Regions from separate parts of the Homo sapiens genome. Here region 2 is linked to region 1. The links are contacts of gene promoters, found by promoter capture Hi-C in human tissues and cell types (Jung and others, 2019). All regions are on one chromosome and are shown on one strand. Each heading gives the region's core, a stretch centred on a gene start or on the middle of the fragment in contact. The rest is flanking DNA. Distances are from core to core; before and after follow the strand shown. Region 1 holds the start of OR7C2 (olfactory receptor family 7 subfamily C member 2). Region 2 has its middle 6.0 kb from the start of TEKTL1.

What was found. Contacts are between HindIII fragments. The study calls those that stand out against the background at their distance.
Region 2: a contact is called between a fragment that was not itself captured here and the fragment with the promoter of OR7C2 in region 1, in 1 of the 25 tissues and cell types used here (stomach).

The regions. Positions count from the first base shown.
Region 1 is chr19:14,939,936-14,943,622 of GRCh38, reverse strand. It overlaps OR7C2 (olfactory receptor family 7 subfamily C member 2), which reads right to left and starts at 2,134. Exons shown (of 1, transcript NM_012377.1): 1 at 1,175-2,134. The coding sequence starts at 2,134. The coding sequence ends at 1,175. The HindIII fragment of the contact is 18,036 bases long and covers 1-3,687 here.
Region 2 is chr19:15,002,887-15,006,573 of GRCh38, reverse strand. It overlaps a transcript of SLC1A6 not described here. Among named protein-coding and RNA genes, the nearest start is that of TEKTL1, 6.0 kb to the left of the region's middle. The HindIII fragment of the contact is 9,530 bases long and covers 1-3,687 here.

The sequences.
Region 1 (3,687 bases), core at 885-3,384:
CAGGCCGGGCATAGTGGCTCATGCCTGTAATCCCAGCACTTTGGGAAGCTGAGGCAGGCAGATCACTTGAGGTCAGAAGTTCGAGACCAGCCTAGCCAACATGGTGAAACTCTGTCTCTATTAAAAATACAAAAATTAGCCAGACATGGTGGTGCATGCCTGTAGTTCCAGCTACTCAGAAGGCTGAGGCAGGGGAATTGCTTCAACCCGGGAGGTGGAGGTTGCAGTGAGCTGAGATGGCGCCACTGCACTCCAGCCAGGGCGACAGAGGGAGACTGTCTCAAAAACACAAACAAAAACAAAAAACAAAACAAAAAACAAAAACAAAAAACAAAATCCAAATCATTACTAAAGATAACAGAGAAAACACCAGGTTGTATTCATACAAAGTTAAGATTACTGGTTAGAAAGTCAAAAAGGGTGATCCTATATAACTTTATTAGCAGTAGCAAGGGCAGGAAACGTTCCAAAGGAAGATGCAAGGGAAGAGATGCTTTAATATGTATAAAAGAAGGCAGGGTGCGGTGGCTCATTGCCTGTAATCCCAGCACTTTGGGAGGCCAAGGCGGGCAGATTACCTGAGGTCAGGAGTTCCAGACCAGCCTGACTAACATGGCAAAACCCCATCTCTACTAAAAATACAAAAACTAGCTGGGCATGGTGGCGGGTGCCTGTAATCCCAGCTACTCAGGAGGCTGAGGCAGGAGAACCACTTGAACCCGGGAGGCGGCAGTTGCAGTGAGCCGAGATCGCACCATTGCACTGCAGCCTGGGTGACAGAGTGAGACTCCTTCTTGAAAAAAAAAAAAAGAAGTGGCTGGGCACGGTGGCTCATGCCTGTAATCCCAGCACTTTGGGAGGCCGAGGCAGGTGGATCATGAGGTCAGGAGTTCGAGACCAGCCTGACTAACATGGTGACACCCCATCTCTACTAAAAATAAAAACAATTGGCCGGGAATTGGGGCGCATGCCTGTAATCCCAGCTGCTAAGGAGGCTGAGGCAGGAGAATTGCTTGAACCTGGGAGGCGGAGGTTGCAGTGAGCCGAGATCACGCCATTGCACTCCAGCCTGGGCGACAGAGCAAGACTCCGTCTCAAAAAAATGCATAAAAACAGAAGTTGAAATATTGGCTGAAAGAGGCCAGTCTGGCCTCAGTATTGTGTTCACTGCAATTCATGAGAGCTTAGCAATGGTCCCCTCTTTGAGAGACGTTGCCCTGAGGAGGAGTCTCCCCAGTGACCCCTTCATGTCCTTGTTCCTCAGGCTGTAGATGAAGGGGTTCAGCATGGGGGTGACCATGGTGTACATCACCGAGGCTGCCAGACTTGTCCTAGAAGGTGGTGTAACTGCAGAACTGAGATAGACCCCAAGGCCAGTGCCATAGAACAAGCTGACCACTGAGAGGTGGGAACCACAGGTGGAAAAGGCTTTGTGCTGGCCTCTGGCAGATACTCTTAGGACGGAGGAGAAAATCTGAGAATAAGAGAATAGGATTCCACAGAGAGGAAAAACACCCAGGACAATGGTCACAAAATACATCACGATGTTATTGATGAAGGTGTCAGAACAGGCCAGCTTCAGGACTTCGGAAGGATCACAAAAAAAGTGCGGAATTTCCATATTTGTGCAGAAGGACAGCCTCAAAATGGTCAAGGTCTCAAGCAAGGAACCCATGACACTGATGCACCAGGACCCCAGAACCAGCAGTCCACAGAGCCGGGGGTTCATGATGACCGTGTAGTGCAGGGGGTAACAGATGGCCACGAAGCGGTCATAGGCCGTCATGGTCAGGAGCAAATTGTCCAGGCATCCAAATGCAATGAAAAAAAATATCTGAGTGAGGCAGCCTGCAAAAGTGATCATTTTGCTTTGTGTTTGGATATTCACCAGCATCTTTGGGACAGTCGTGGATGTGAAACAGATGTCAGCAAAGGACAGGTTGGAGAGGAAGAAGTACATGGGGGTGTGGAGGTGGGAGTCTGAACTGATGGTCAGGATGATGAGCAGGTTTCCGATGATGGTAACCAGGTACATGGAGAGGAACAGCCCATGGAGGAGAAGCTGCATGTCAGAGTCCTCTGCGAATCCCAGGAGGAGAAAGTTTCCAACTTCTGTTTGGTTTCCTCTTTCCATGGGGCCGCTGGGTTTGCCGAGAAGGAGGAAAAAAAACAGCCACACAAAATTTACTCCAAATAAGCATTCCCCAGAATGACTGCAATATCCTTTATTCAAACCCAGGGAACTCAAGAAATCATGCATTTTGGCTAATTATTGGATTTCTTTGCCGACAAGTTACAGTTACCATCGCTACCTGGAGAAGTCATCTCTACATCATTGGTCCTTAAACTGTGGTTCCTGGAACAGCCCCATCAGCATCACCTGGGAACTCATTAGACATGTGCCTTATCATGCCCACCTGACCGACTGAATCTGATACTCTGGGTATGGAGCCAGCATTCTGGTTTAGTTTTTGTTTGAGATGGAGTCTCGCTCTTTCGCCCAGGCTAGAGTGCAGTGGCAGAGTCTTGGCTCACTGCAACCTCTGCCTCCCGGGTTCAAGTGATTCTCCTGCCTCAGCCTCCAGAGTAGCTGGTATTACAGGCATGTACCACCACGCCCAGCTAATTTTTGTAGTTTTAGTAGAGACAGGGTTTCACCATGTTGGTCAGGCTGGTCTCGAACTCCTGACCTCGTGATCCTCCTGCGTTGGCCTCCCAAAGTGCTGGGATTACAGGCATGAGCCACCACGCCTGGCCTTTTAATTTTAATTAATTAATTTTTTTTTTTTGAGACAGAGTCTCACCCTGTTGCCCAGGCTGGAGTGCAGTGGTGCAATCTCAGCTCACTGCAACCTCTGGCTCCCAGGTTCAAGCAATTCTCATGCCTCAGCCTCCTGAGTAGCTGGCACTACAGGCGCGCACCACCACGCTGAGGTAATTTTTTTTTTTTTTTGTATTTTTAGGAGAGACACGGTTTCTCCATGTTGGCCAGACTGGTCTCAAACTCCTGACCTCAGATGATCCGCCCGCCTCAGCCTCCCAAAGTGCTGGTATTACAGGCATGAGCCACCGTGCCTGGCCTGCATTCTGGGTTTTAACAAGCCCTCTAGGGAATTCTGATGCACACTCAAGTTTGAGGACTATTGCTTCAGCGCTTGCCTGTATCCCTAAGCAATCCTTCCCACCGCAGCATCCCTGGTGGCTGCTCTTGCCCTTTCTGCCTAAGGCATGGGGATTAGGAAATCAGGCAATGAGAATTCCCTAATTCTAGGCAGATTGTCAATCCTCAGAAGGCTTTTTCTTCTATTGTGCTGCATTCCTGTAATTTATTTTTCATTTTGTTTTAGAGACAAGGTCTGGCTCTGTTGCCCAGGCTGGAGTGCAGTGGCGCCATCCTAGCTCACTGCAGTCTCGAACTTCTGGGCTCAAGTGATCCTCCTGCCTCAGCCTCCCAAGTAGCTGGGATTACAGGTGCAAGCCACTGTGCCCAGTTGTAATGTCTACATGTTAAATCCTCTGGATCTTGGATGCCCCTTCTGCTAAAAAATAATAACCACTGTTTTTAATCATCATTGTTTACATTTCATTTATATTATCAATCTCCCTAGCTAAACTCAACAAAAATGGAACTTTGAAATAGAAAAGCCCTAGAGTTTCTAGATATAGAATTAAATTTTATCCCCATTT
Region 2 (3,687 bases), core at 683-3,182, 63 kb before region 1:
ATCAAGGGATCATTCAGTAATGGGGGGTGGGGGGAATAAGATGGGCAACCAGCGACTCCCACGCCAGCCATCCTGGAGACCCGCCGTTATGTTCTTTAGGGCCACTAGCAAGAAATGGGGCCAGATAACCTTTGGCGATGGAGGCTTGGGAATATGGGGTTAGCACAGTCATTTGCTGCTGGGACCAGTGGTATCTGGTTCAACAAATTTTCATGAGCATCAGGAGGATATTATGGTCTGTATTCTGGATCCAGATGAACTAGGATTCAAATTATGATTCTGCCACTTGCTGTCTACGTGATCTCGAGCAATTCACTTAACATCTCTGTGCCTGCGTTGCCCCATCTGTCAACTCAGGTAATAGGATTGTGGCATGGAGACAATGAGTTAATATGAATGAAGTGCTTAGCACCATGGCTGACACCTAGTAAGCATTATGTAAGTGTTTACTTTTGACTTTTATTAATAGAATGAATCCATGAATGAGCTATTTCAAAACCAGAAGAGGTCCAGAGAGGGTTTCACAAAGAACCAGGGAGACACCTCATGTGAGATGACCTGCACACAACCATCTACCTTTGCTTTGTTCATGAAGTACGTCCACCTTCCCAACCAGGGGATCTCATTTGGGTAGGCTTGCTGCCTGGTGTATGAAGCACCTCTGTTGGGCAGAACTTGTACCAAGCTACCTGAGAGACGCTTAGGAAGCTTCCTCATGCCAGATCTGCATGTGAGGATTTTGGCTTCCACATGGCTCTCTGGTGAAATGCATTAGGGCTATGCAGGCTGTTACATTCTGGCTTTTTATTAGTTTAACACGCTGACACCAACACGCTGCTAGTATATGATACTATTATCTAAGCATTGAAATTGGTGCAGACCATTGCTTAATCAGACCAACTTCTCATTTCCATCTCCCAATCCCAGTTTCCATTCTCTATATCAACTTCCAAAAACTCACTGCTAGCTCCTGGCTTTGATGACCCATTTTGGACACTTCTCTAGCCTGATATGTATTTGAAGAACAGGTGAGTTATCTGGTTTTTTTGTTTTTTTGTTTTTGTGAGAAGGAGTTTCACTCTTGTTGCCCAGGCTGGAGTGCAGTGGCGCGATCTCGGTTCACTGCAACCTACGCCTCCCAGGTTCAAGTGATTCTCCTGCCTCAGCCTTCTGAGTAGCTGGGATTACAGATGCCCACCACCACGCCCAGCTAATTTTTTGTATTTTTAGTAGAACAATTTGTTCACCATTGTTGGCCAGGCTATTCGTGAACTCCTGACCGCCACCGTGCCCTGCTTTTTTTTTTTTTTTTTTGAGACAGGGTCTTGCTTTGTCACCCAGAGTAGAGTACAGTGGTACCATCATGGCTCACTGCAACTTTGAACTCCTGGGCTTAAACAATCCTCCTGCCTCAGCCTCCTGGGTAGCTGGCCCTATGGGCATGTGCTACCATGCCTGGCTAATTTAAAAATGTTTTTGTAGAGACACGATCTTGCTATGTTGCCCAGGCTAGTCTCAAACTCCTGGACTCAAACAATCCTCCCGCCTTGGCCTACCAAAGCTCTGGGGTTTCAGATGTGAGCAACTGTGCCTGGCCTGTCTGGAAGGAACCATTCATTGCTGGGCTGGGATTAGCTCTCATTTTCCAAGTGATTCACCTGCGTGTGTCTGAACAGAAACAGTGATGTTCAAAAAATCTACAGAAACATTATGTACACAAGACCGAGGACTAGGAAAATTTTTCAGTACTCTCCAAGCCTAAATACCTCTCTTAAACTAACAAATAAGCTATGAAAGCAAGGTATGCACCTTGTATAAAATGTATAAAATATGGGAAACATAATGAAATGAATAAGAATCTTTTTTTTTTTTCTGGAGACAGAGTCTCACTCTGTCACCCAGGCTGAAATGAAGTGGCACAATCTTGGCTCACTAAAGCCTCCAACTCCTGGTCTCAAGAGATCTCTTGCTTCAGCCTCCTGAATAGCTGGAACTACAGGTGCATGCCATCACAATTGACTTTTTTTTTTTTTTGTAGAGGTGAGGTCTTGCTATGTTGCCCAGTCTGGGTCTTGAACTCCTGGCTTCAAGCCATCCTCCTGCCTCACCCTCTCAAAGTGCTGGGATTATGGCCACAAGCCACCATGGCCAGCCTTATTTTTTGTTTTACTATCCAGAGATACTTATTCTGAACTTGATCTTGATTTCACTCTAACCATTTCCACATTCATTCCCCCACCATGCCTCTGTGTGTGTGTGTGTATGTGTGCATGCATATACACAACTATACATATTTCCCTTCTCCCAATATACTGAAGCCCAAATACTTCTAACTCAGGCCAATAGGGAGTTATATTTCTTTGTGAAATTAGCTCTCTGATTTTTATTTATTTTATTTATGCATTATTAATTTTTTTAGAGACAGAGTCTTGCTCTGTTGCTCACGCTGGAGTGCAGTGGTGTGATCTTGGCTCACTGCAACCTCCTCCTCCTGGGTTCAAGCAATTCTCCTGCCTCAGCCTGCTGAGTAGCTGGGACTACAGGGGCCCACCACCACGCCCAGCTAATTTTTTGTATTTTAATAGAGATGGGGTTTCTCCATGTTGCCCAGGTTGGTCTCGAGCTCCTGAGCTCAGGCAATCCACCCGGCTTGGCCTCCCAAAGTGCTAGGATTACAGGCATGAACCACCACACCTGGCAGCTCTCTTGATTTTTATAATAAAGAACACTTTATAGAAATTCCTTTTTGCAACTTTGCTGGGGCCACCTGTTCTATATACTGATTCATGCAATGTAGGGAGCAGAATTCTGCTTTTGGGCGAAATCGAGTGAAATTGCAGAATGGATGAAGAAGGAGCACCTTCTAAAACTTCTAGCCTTTTTTCTTTTCTTTTCTTTCTTTTTTTTTTTTTTGGCATTACATGGAGATGCCCTTCGCTGTGAAATCTTGGCAGGTAATTATCAGAGACCCCTTTTTAGGTTCCCCGATGTCTTCCCTTCTGGGACACCAGGTTCTACTTTTAGTAGGTGCCCCTCTTTCTCTTGGAGATAATCACATCAATTGGTCTCTCATTCCAGGGGGATATGACCTAGAATCTGTTTTGTCTTTGAGAAATGAGGTCGCTTTTCTGGTGGAGGTGTCAGGAGATGGTGGGAAGCCCCAGGCTGGGAGAGGAGGTGCTTCCTGGTTCTTCCCTGTCATCTCCTGCAAAGGCAGTGACCTTGCTGGTCAGTGAGTGACAAGGACCTGTGTCTATGGCTGTACCCCTGGTCAGTCCCTCAAAATGACTCAGGCAGGCCAGGCACGGTGGCTTATGCCTGTAATCCCAGCACTTTGGGAGGCTGAGGTAGGCAGATCAGTTGAGGCCAGGAGTTCGAGACCAGCCTGGCCAACATGGTGAAACCCCATCTGTACAAAAATGCAAAAATTAGCTGGGCGTGGTGGCACATGCCTGTAATCCCAGCTACTCAAGAGGCTGAGTCATGAGAATCGCTTGAACCCGGGGGGCGGAGGTTGCAGTGAGCTGAGATTGTGCCACTGTGCTCTAGCCTGGGTGAGACAGAGACTCTATTACAAAAAACAAAATAACAACAACAACAACAACAACATCCCACAAAAAACAAAAAGACAAAAATGAAAAACACAAACCGAAAACAAACAAACAAACAAACAAACAAACAAAAATA